4 separate regions of the Homo sapiens genome follow, and regions 1, 2 and 3 are each linked to region 4. Evidence: promoter capture Hi-C in human tissues and cell types (Jung and others, 2019). All regions are on one chromosome and are shown on one strand. Each heading gives the region's core, a stretch centred on a gene start or on the middle of the fragment in contact. The rest is flanking DNA. Distances are from core to core; before and after follow the strand shown. Region 1 overlaps SLC38A9 (solute carrier family 38 member 9). Region 2 has its middle 48 kb from the start of IL6ST-DT. Region 3 overlaps IL6ST-DT (IL6ST divergent transcript). Region 4 holds the start of IL31RA (interleukin 31 receptor A).

Region 1 (2,822 bases), core at 214-2,713, 140 kb after region 4:
TGGCGCAATCTCAGCTCACTGCAACCCCTGCCTCCCGGGTTCAAGCGATTCCCCTGCCTTAGCCTCCCAAGTAGCTGGGACTACAGGCACACGCCACCATACCCGGCTAATTTTTTGTGTGTGTTTTGGTAGAGATGGGGTTTCACCATGTTGGCCAGGATGGTCTTGATCTCCTGACCTCTTGATCTGCCTGCCTCGGCCTCCCAAAGTGCTGGGATTACAGGCGTGTGCCACACACGCCCAGCCAGTTAGCCTTAGATTTCTAATCACAATCTTAAATACTATATATTTCAGTTACATACATAAAATAATATGCTTTTAATTGTGATTTTATAATACTCTAAATACTTACAATAAAGGGTAAACTCAGCATAGGAGGATGGAATACCAACCTGAACTACAAATTGAAATAGTATTGTTTAGTATTTTTTTTTTCTTTTTGGGGTTAGGGGCAGAGTTTTGCTCTGATACTCAAGCTTTAGTGCAGTGGCACTGTCATAGCTAACTGTTACCTTGAACTCCTAGGTTCAAGCAATCCTCTTGCTTCAGCCTCCCAAAGCATTGGGATTACAGGCATGAGCCACCACACTGGACCTATATGGTATTTTTTAAAAAGTATATATGGGCTTAAAAGTTAAAAAAAAAAAATCACTTAGAGGTTAAAAATGTCTACCAGGCCTGCATTTTGTAACATACTTAAATTTCTGTCGTTTGCTAGGGTTTTTTTCTTTCTTACCACTGAAATATAACTTGAGAGCATTTAGTGTTCCCATTGTAGAAGGAGAGATTCTTTGGTACCACAGCGTTGCTTTGGTAATTTTTTTGTGAGACCACACTATCCTCCAGCACTGTCAAATTTAACGCCTTTTGAAGCATTTATTGATCAGGTTGGAAGCATGTTCCAACTGTCACATCAGAATAGGAGCATTATAGATCCTATTGGCTAACCAGTAAATGATTCATCAGGAAGAGATTTAGATAAGTTTGTTATTGGAGTTTATAGCTGTTACAGACTAATACAGAAGAAAATATATATACATAGCATAACTGCTTCCACCAGGGTGACTTTTTTGTGGTGTGGTTCCATTTGCTTTTATGTTGGCATACTACAGAGGTGAGTAAACTATGACCAAATTTGGCCTGCTGACAGATATATTTTTTTCATAAAGTTCTATTGGAACACAGCCATGCACACTCAATTGCCTTTCATGCTAACAGGTAGAATTGAGTAGCTGCAGAAACTATATGGCTCAAAAAGCCTGAAATATTTATTATCTGACCCTTTACAGAAAAAAATATGTCAACCTCTAGCCTAGGACACTGAGTATAAATGTAGTATCTGAAACTCTATAACATACACAAAAGTATTCAGTAATATTCATTTTTAGTCTCTGAGAAAGAACATATATAATAGTTGTATGTGGGTCCATAGTCACATTTATTTGGGCACAAGCTAGTGTATTCTATTGCAGATTGATGCTAGCATCTTGGCATAGATTCTATAGATTTATTTTTGCAAAGAATTGTGAAAAGACATTTCTGAGCCTAGTATGGAAAGGGCTGATATTCTTTGAGATACGCCAATAATCACAGTCAATACCTTTTTAAAATAATGTCATACCAGTTTACTTTGATTGCTCTCTATGTCCTTTTTACGGAGAGAAGTGCTTCAGTACAGGCACTAACATTTTTTGTTCTTTTAGAGACAGTCTCACTCTGTCACCTGGGCTGGAATGCAGTGGTGCCATTGTAGCTCGCTGCAATCTCGAACTCCTGGGCTCAAGCAGTTCTCTCACCTCAGCCTCCCGAGTAGCTGAGATTACAGGCATGAGCCACCATGCCTGGCTCAGTCACCAACATTTTAAATAAAAGTCGAAAGTACCAAGCAAGTCAACTAAGCTGTTCATTCCCTACTGGGACCTATCTCAGTCTCTTGGTGCTGCTCTAATGAAATACTTGAGGCTAGGTAATTTATAAACAATAGAAATTAATTTCTAGCAGTTGTGGAGGCTGGGAAGTCCAAGATCAAGCCACCTGCAGATTTGATGTTTGGTGAGGACCCGGTCTCTGCTTCCAAGATGGTGCCTTGGTGCTGTGTCCTCACATGGGGGAAGGGATGGAAAGACAAAAGGGATCTAGCTAGTTCCCTTCAAACTTTTCATAAGGTTACTAACTCCATTCATAAGGGTTCTGCCTTCCTGACATAATTACCTCCAAAAGGGTCTACCTGTTAATACTATAACATTGGCAATTAAGTTTCAACATATGAATTTTGGACGGGACACAAACATTCAAATCATAGCTGGACTCCTTATTAAAACCAATCTTAAACAATTAGAGACTCATTTAATGACTTAGATTTGACTTAGTGGTCTTGCATCTGGGACTTTGTTTTAAAACTCAGAGATTGAGTGAGATGTTAAAAGTGATTATGTCTGGGTTTTGTTTTGAGACAGAGTCTTGCTCTGCAACCTCTGCCTCCTGGGTTCAAGCAATTCTCCTGCCTCAGCCTCCCGGGTAGCTGGGACTACACGTGTGTGCCACCACTGCTGGCTAATTTTTGTACTTTTAGTAGAGACAGGGTTTCACTATGTTGGCCAGGCTGGAATATGTCTGTTTATGTCATCTTGTATATTTAGCCCCTACCAAATTATATCAATGTAATGTCTGACAAATTAATACTATAGAAGTATTTAGCATTTTTGTTAATCATTGATAAACTATTCTGCATTATCACCTATGTAATATTTGCTGTGGAACTCTAATTCACCTCTCAACCTAAGTCATCAAACTTCGGGATATTTTATACTTCTCATCAAGAC
Region 2 (2,700 bases), core at 15-2,514, 190 kb before region 4:
TTGACCAACCAAAATTATTTTAACTAATTATTTGAAAATGCATTATTACCTTTCTTTATACAAATAACATATGGCATTTATCGTGTATGAATATGACATGAGTTCTCACACTCAGATTTTGCAATAGCAATATAGATTTTTTGGGTTTTTTTGCTTTGTTTTTTATGGGTAACATCTGTTTCTTCCTAGAAAACACATGAAATCCCTTTCCATGTGTTATAGACTAGATCGAGTTTGAAACTAAAAGTGATTATCTCTCTTCAGTCCAGGCAATGGCAATGTTAAGTAAATAAACAGCCTACTGGAATCTTTCTTATCAGAGTTCCAGGAATGATCACTTTTGTTTTTTAAGAACAAGATATTGAAAGAGCATAGTAGTATCCTTTTTCTGATTGCTTTGTAGAAATCTGGCAGTCCTTCCTCAAAACGAGCCTCTTAGATTCATATCTGCACTTTTCCCTACCATGTCCCACCCTCTCCCAGCCATTAGAATTCAGAAGTTCAATTAGCCGGGCGTGGTGGCGGGCACCTGTAGTCCCAGCTACTCGGGAGGCTGAGGCATGAGAATGCCGTGAACCCGGGAGGCGGGGCTTGCAGTGAGCAGAGATCGCGCCACTGCACTCTAGCCTGGGCAACAGAGCGAGACTCCATCTCAAAAAAAAAAAAAAAATAAAGAATTCAGAAGTTCAAACTAACACCTTAATATTTTCTTAGCAGTTTTTAATTGTTTTGTGCAAATTGACAATGAATATATACTTATCTCCTTTCCTTTGTCAACTTACTAGGGGCAGATTCAGTAAGTACCTGTTGATTTTCTTCTTTCCTTCATTCTGAGAATAAGCCCTTGGTATTATTGTTGCTTCTTAGAATAGTGTAGAGGATAAATAATACATTCTACATCAACCTCTTCATTTTATAAATAAGGCAACTAAAACCTAAAGTAACCAAGCTTACTTGCCCGAAGTCAGATAGCTAGTTAGCAGTAGATCACTTTCCCTCTGATTTTACTTCAATAATATAATATGCTGATATTTTCTTGACAGCTTAACTTACGTACGCTTTGAGTTCATCATGCAATGGCAAAGTAATTTACAATGTACCATTATAAGTAGATACACGTCACTCCAAGAGCAGAATTTCTGGTGTTGGTAAATTACACTAAAACACTTGCCATTTCTGAAATATTCCATATGGATTTGTTGTGCTTATGCTATCACACATAATTTTACCTCAGTCCAGAATCTCCTTTCTTACCTGGTGAATTCTTTTTATTCATCAACACTTAGTTCAAAGGCCACCTTCTCTTTGCAGCCTTCCTTGTCTCCTCAAACTCTCTCTTCCCTGTATCGCCATGGCTCATTATACTCCGTTTATAGTCCACAAAGCTGAATGTCTTGAGGCCAGGACCTTGATGTCTATGTGGCTTCCCAGAACCTAGCATTGTTTTTTGCACTTACTGGACACTTAATTAATATCATTGACTTAGTAAATGAATTAATAAGTAAACTGAATTAAACACCCTCTGACAAAATTAATTACTCACTTCTTGTGAGGCACAGCAGAAAAGGACAAACTAAAGATGCTTTATATATCCTGTCCATGTGGTTCCTATAGCTGCTAAATGACAAAAATGTCTAAAGCATCCTGCACAGCGCTGACATCGACACGTAGTAAATGTTCTTTTACTTTGCTTTCCCCATGTCCAGTCTCCATTATGAACATATAATTATTGTAGTGGAATGAAGATGGAAAGATCAGTGTTTTAAGTTTTGTCAAATATTGTGAGGGGAGAAATAAATTCCTTTGTCCTTTGAATGATTGATTGGTCTGTCCCATGGAGGTGGCTGAGCAGGTTGACATCCAACCCAGTTGGAAGAGTATCTTGGTTCCCAACACAAAGAAGACAATGCAGATCTGTGTGGTTGGAGGGACTGGGATTTACTTCTAATGTAACTTAAAGTACTTGGCACGCAGTTAGCCCTCAATAAATATGAGTTTATTGTTACCCCCTCTCAACGAGTAGTGGCTTTCCAGATCCTCACTGTGAGAAAGATGACAAAGCTACTTCTAAACTCAGAGAAAATAAAAATGCCATGGTCAATTAGCTATGTCTGCCTTGGACACAAGATAGGGAAATGGAACTTTTTTTCCTGGATCTAGAATCCATTGCCTTAAAATAAAGCAGGCTTGAGATAACTTACTGAGTTAGTGGAGCTCACAGAGAGACTGAACAGAAGTAAAGACTTGAATTTTACCATTGGTAGAATGTACAAGTGTCGTTTGCTATCAATAGCTGCACTCTGCAATACAGTAGCCACTAGCCACATGGTGCTTTAAATTTATATGAATTAATCTTTTTAAATTTAATTTAATTTTTTTTTTTGAGATGGAGTCTTGCTCTGTCACCCAGGCTGGAGTGCAGTGGCGCAATCTTGGCTTACTGCAACCTCTGCCTCCCAGGTTCAAGGGATTCTCCTGCCTCAGCCTCCCAAGTAGCTGGGATTACAGGTGCCAGCCACCACGCCCAGATAATTTTTGTATTTTTAGTAGAGACAGGGTTTCAGCACATTGGCCAGGCTGGTCTCGAACTCCTGACCTCATGATCCGCCTGCCTCGGCCTCCTAAAGTGCTGGGATTACAGGCGTGAGCCACCGTGCCTGGCCTAAATGAATTAAAATTAAATAAAATTTAACCAACAGT
Region 3 (2,700 bases), core at 151-2,650, 150 kb before region 4:
GAAGGCAATGACCGGCCAAGGAAACAGAATAAGCTGTCTCTTCTTGGCATGGAAGGAGGGAACAGTATGTTGGATGCTGGCCCAGGAACCATTAGCAAATAGGTAATATGAGAGCCTGGAGTTGGAGGCCATGTTAGGAGACAAGACCAGAGAAGTAGGTAGAGGTCACGTAATGAGGGACTTCTATGACATACAAGAGGGATTTGGGTAATGGGAAGGGATTGACGGAGTTTTAAGGAGAGTGAGATGGTCAGATTTTCAGCACGGTACATGATAAAGATTAGAATTTTATTCTGGTTGCTTATTACTCCTAACAAAACAGTGACTTAAAACAAACATTTTATTATACCATACAAATTTTTGAGTCAGCAGTTTGGAAAGAATTCAGTTAGGCAGTTCTTCTGCTCTATGTGGCATTGACTGGGATCAGTTAGTATTATTCATCTCGTGGCTGGTCTGGTATGGAGGTTCCAAGATGGCTTTACTCACATGCCAAGTTCCTGGGCAGGGTCACTAGGAAGACTGGGATCAGCCGGGCCACTCCCCCTCTCCCTGTAGTCTCAGCTCTCTCCAGATGGTGTAATAAGGTAGATGGACTTTGTACACAGTGACTCAGGACTTCCACAGACCAAGGTGAAAGCTCCTCTTAAAAGCCAGACCCTGAACAAGCCTGCCTAAATTCAAGATGAAGGGAAATAGCCCTCAAATCTCTCCATAGAAGAGTATTGAAGAATTTGTGGCCATTTTAAATCCACTACAAGGTATAAAAATGTAGAACTGAAAGTAGAGAGAGGCAACTGACTTCTTATAATGCCCAGTTTCTGAAGTATTTATGTATGAGTACTTCCAGAATATTCTCTTAACATCTTCCTCATAGCACTGTAACATGGCTATGATTTTTGTATGATTGTTGGTTTATGTATTAGACTTTTGAGCTCCTCAATGAGGACAACACGTGTGTCTTCCTTAGATTAATATCTCAGTGCCTGGAACATAGTTGATGCTCAAAACTTATTGAATAAATAAATTGAATACATTAGAATGGTGGGATCCCGTCTTCACAACACCAGAGCAGCGTTCTGCTTGATATAATTTCCTTCTCCAGATTCGTATCTTCTTATGAACGTAAGAGAAGCTTGATTTAAATGTGTAGAAATAGTATCCATTATAAATATTTATGTGAATAGCTTTTAACTTTTCCCTGTTGTATTAGTTCTCCACTACATAACAAATTATCACATACTTGGCAGCTTAAAACAACACACATTTATTATCTCAGTTTCTGTGGTCAGGAGTCTAGGCACAGTTTAGCTGGGTTCTCTGCTTCAGTTCTCATGAGGCTGCAAACAAGTTGTTAGCTGAGGATGCTGTCTCATCTGAGGCTTGACTGGGGAAGGATCTGCTTTTGTTGGCAAAATTCAGTTCCTTGAGGTTGTAGGACTGAGAGATTTGGTTTCTTTCTCTCTTTTTTTTTTTTTTTTGAGATGGAGTCTCGCTCTGCCACCCAGGCTGGAGTGCAGTGGCGTGATCTCAGCTCACTGCAACCTCTGCCTCCTGGGTTCAAGAAATTCTCTCCCTCAGCCTCCTGGGTAGCTGGGATTACAGGTGCCTGCCACCACACCCAGCTAATTTTTGTATTTTTAGTAGAGATGGGGTTTCACCATCTTGGCCAGGCTGGTCTTGAACTCCTGACCTTGTGATCCACCCACCTTGGCCTCCCAAAGTGCTGGGATTAAAGGCATGAGCCACTGTGCCTGGCCGGGAGATTCAGTTTCAAAGCTAGCTGTTGGCAGAGTCTGCCCTCAGTTCCTTAACATGTGGGTCTTTCCATATCAAAGCTCAAACATGGCAGGCAGCTTGATTTTTCAGAGCCACAAGAGAGAGAGAGACACTAGCAAGATGGGCACTATCTTATATAACTCAATGACATACATGCCTTCACACTCAAGAGGAGGAAATCACACAAGGAATACCAAGAAGCAGGAGGTCATAGCATTTCTCCTAAGAGTCTATCTGTCATATATCCTTACATCCAAATAATGACTCTCATAATTTGATATATCACCAGATAAGCTTTGTTTCCAGTTTCATTTGACCCTGACATTAAATTTCATTTATTTATTTGTTAATTATGGAAGATGGCCATTCCGTAAATCCTGTGAAAAATCAGAGGGGACAATTATCAGAAAATTCCAGCCCTCTCAGGAAGTATATCCATTTCATTTTTACTTTACAGTAGGGACTGCCTTCCTCTCTTAAGGAGACAGATACACATTTGCCTAAACCATTATTTAATACAATTAGTACTAGATCTTTCTTCAGATCCTATGTAGGGGGCTGGGAATTCTTAGCTATACAAGCTCACACAATATATTTTTTAAAATTCATGTTGATACTTTTTCATCTATTTGGTTTTAGCACAAGTATCAGACTGGCAGCCAAGGAACCTATTTTGTAACTGCAGAATATTCTTTCCAGGAAGACTGGTGAAAGGAGAATCAACGAAGGAAAGCCCTTGCTTCTCAAACTCCCCCTGATAATATTCTGAAGCAAGTATAGTCCATTCCAAAGCTACAGTCCCAATACCTGACTTCCTTATCCTATGTATGTGTCTAGGAATAGGATGCACCTAACTGCTGCTCACATGTCTTGCACTGGCCTTTCCTTCTCTGAAGCCAAGCTTCCCTCTCAAAGAGTAAC
Region 4 (2,710 bases), core at 35-2,534:
AAAGAAAACTAAGTTTTAAAACAAGCTATGCTTTCCAGCCCCACATTTTAATTTTTAACCCATTCCCCATCTTCCTTAGGCAATGTTCCACTAAGTAGGAGGAATAAGGGTGAGAAAGAGAGCTAGTCTTTTACCTAGAAGATTATAATTATGAGATATTTAAAATTCCAGCCAGGCGTGGTGGCTCACGCCTGTAATCCCAGCACTTTGGGAGGCTGAGGCAGGTGGATCACCTGATGTCAGGAGTTTGAGACCAGCCTGACCAACATGGCAAAACCCCATCTCTACTAAAAATACAAAAAAATTAGTCAGGCATGGTGGCAGGCACCTGTAATCCCAGCTACTCGGGAGGCTGAGGCAGGAGAATCGCTTGAACCCGGGAGGCAGAGGTTGCAGTGAGCCAAGATCGTGCCATTGTACTCCAACCTGGCGACAAGAGTGAAACTCTGTCTCAAAAAATAAATAAAATAAAATAAAATAAAATTCCATTATAATATACTATAGAGAAAAGCTAAATGCTAGCACAAAAATAGCAAGCATTTCTTGAATTTATTCAACCAATACTTAGTAAACACCTATTACATGCATAACAGCTCACTAAAGGTGTTGTGTATTAAATAGAATTCTGGTTAAGACAAGACCAATTGAGCATATACATTTATCTCTACTCTCTCAGGAAACTCCACAAAAATTATGGCAAAGATATAGAACCACAAGACAAAACAAATGGGAAGAGGCAACAGCAAATAAGAGATGTCAACAAATCTTTGGAAAAAGAGAAATGAATCAAGCCATAACTGAACTGGTAAAGATGAGAAAGCAGAAACCTAGAAATGCCTAATAAGGTTGCCAACAATAAGCAAACATAATTATGCCACGGAATCTCATACGGCTCAGGATTTGAGACACTAGGTAGGTAAAATCAACCCTCATTACTCACAGCTTCCTTATTTGTGAATTCACCTACTTGCTAGGAATTATTTGTAACCCCCCAAATCAATACTCACAATGTTTTGCGGACATTCACAGACACATGCCGTGGTGAAAAACTTGAGTTGCCTGATGCACATTCCCAGCTGAGGTGGAACAAGCTGACACTCTGCCTTCCTGTCTCAATTTTCATACTGCACACACATGTCTTTTCATGGTCTATTTAGTGCCATGCTGGTTATTACTATTTTTTTTTGCAATTTTTTGCCTTTTATGAGTGATTTTGCTGTTTCGAATGCCCCCCAAGCAGAGTGCTGGAGTGCTGTCTGGTGTTCCTAAGCAGAAGGAGGCTGTGCCTCATGGAGAAAATATGTGTGTTAAATAAGCTCTATTCAGGCATGAGTCATAGTACTGTTATTAGCCATGAGTTCAATGTTGATGAATCAACAATGTATATTAAATAAGGTGTCTTTAAACAGAAACACACACAAAACAAGGTTATGTATTGATTAGCTGACAAAAATGTTGTGACCAGAGGCTCACAGGCACCTAACTCTATATTTCCCCCACAGAGAATAATTCAGTATTTTCTTTTTTTCTTTTTTTTTTTCTTCTGAGACAGAGTTTCGCTCTTGTTGCTTAGGCTGGAGTGCAATTGCGCCATCTCAGCTCACCGCAACCTCCACCTCCCGGGTTGAAGTGATTCTCCTGCCTCAGGCCAGCCTCCCATGTAGCTGGGATTACAGGCATGCGCCACCAAGCCCAGCTGATTTTGTATTTTTAGTAGAGACGGGGTTTCTCCATGTTGTTCAGGCTGGTCTCAAACTCCTGACCTCAGGTGATCCACCTGCCTCGGCCTCCCAAAGTGCTGGGATTACAGGCATGAGCCACCACGCTCAGCAGTATTTTCTAATTCAGTGTTTGTGGCGATTTTATTGAACATAATTGCCAGGAATAATGAAGGAATAATGAGAATTGACTATACCTCTGAAACAAAAATCATAAGATTGGTTGAAAATCTGAAAAAGAAATAGACTACCTAATCCTAACCCCACAAAGCCAAATTCATTAAATTTCTCCCATCCCAACAGCAGATGGGGGGAAAAAACTTGAAAGAAAGGCAATGCAGAAAGCAGAATATTTTTTAAAAGAAATATTAGTTAAACCTTCATAGAAAATAAGAAAAAATGTTGTACCCACAAAATATGAATAGGATGCTATGATAAAGGCATAATTAGAGAACAAGAACTCTTGGAGATTCAAAATATGAGAGCTGAAGTCTAAAGACTAGAAAATAAAGTTGAGGAAATCTTCCAGAAGATAGAAGAAAAGACAAAGAGATGAAGAATAGCCAACATCTGACTACCAGCAGTACAGAAGCACAGAACAGAGGAATGGAGGGAAAGAAATAATGAGAGAAGTGATACAATAAAATTCCCAAGAATTGAGGAACATTTGTTTCCAGATTGAAAGGGCCCACTGTAAACAGCATAATAAATGAAAATAAATCTACACTGAAGTACAAAACAGTGAAGTTTCAGAATATCAAGAATAAACAGAAAAAAAATGTTTCCAGATAGGAAAAAAATAAGTCACATACAAAGGATCAAGGATGAGAATGGCTTTAGACTTAATAACAAAACCAGAAGTTAGAAAGCAATGGATCAATTCCTTTATAACTCTATTGGAAAATTATTTCTCACCTAGGATGCTCTACCCATCCAAATGATCCATCAGAAAGAAAGGTAAAACAACGTTCTTGAAACTGCATTTTCCAACA

The links. Contacts are between HindIII fragments. The study calls those that stand out against the background at their distance.
Region 1: a fragment that was not itself captured here is called in contact with the fragment with the promoter of IL31RA in region 4 in 1 of the 25 tissues and cell types used here (mesenchymal stem cells).
Region 2: a fragment that was not itself captured here is called in contact with the fragment with the promoter of IL31RA in region 4 in 1 of the 25 tissues and cell types used here (aorta).
Region 3: a contact is called between a fragment that was not itself captured here and the fragment with the promoter of IL31RA in region 4, in 1 of the 25 tissues and cell types used here (bladder).

What each region holds. Positions count from the first base shown.
Region 1 is chr5:55,707,208-55,710,029 of GRCh38, reverse strand. All of the region lies in intron 2 of SLC38A9 (solute carrier family 38 member 9), which reads left to right. Among named protein-coding and RNA genes, the nearest start is that of SLC38A9, 3.7 kb to the left of the region's middle. The HindIII fragment of the contact is 5,694 bases long and covers 1-2,822 here.
Region 2 is chr5:56,041,459-56,044,158 of GRCh38, reverse strand. No RefSeq gene overlaps it. Among named protein-coding and RNA genes, the nearest start is that of IL6ST-DT, 48 kb to the right of the region's middle. The HindIII fragment of the contact is 6,264 bases long and covers 1-2,700 here.
Region 3 is chr5:56,001,205-56,003,904 of GRCh38, reverse strand. It overlaps IL6ST-DT (IL6ST divergent transcript), which reads right to left. Exons shown (of 2, transcript NR_102755.1): 2 at 256-2,156. Among named protein-coding and RNA genes, the nearest start is that of IL6ST-DT, 7.4 kb to the right of the region's middle. RefSeq lists an enhancer at 450-744. The HindIII fragment of the contact is 6,106 bases long and covers 1-2,700 here.
Region 4 is chr5:55,849,931-55,852,640 of GRCh38, reverse strand. IL31RA (interleukin 31 receptor A) reads right to left here and starts at 1,284. Exons shown (of 15, transcript NM_139017.7): 1 at 1,008-1,284. The coding sequence starts at 1,070. The HindIII fragment of the contact is 16,782 bases long and covers 1-2,710 here.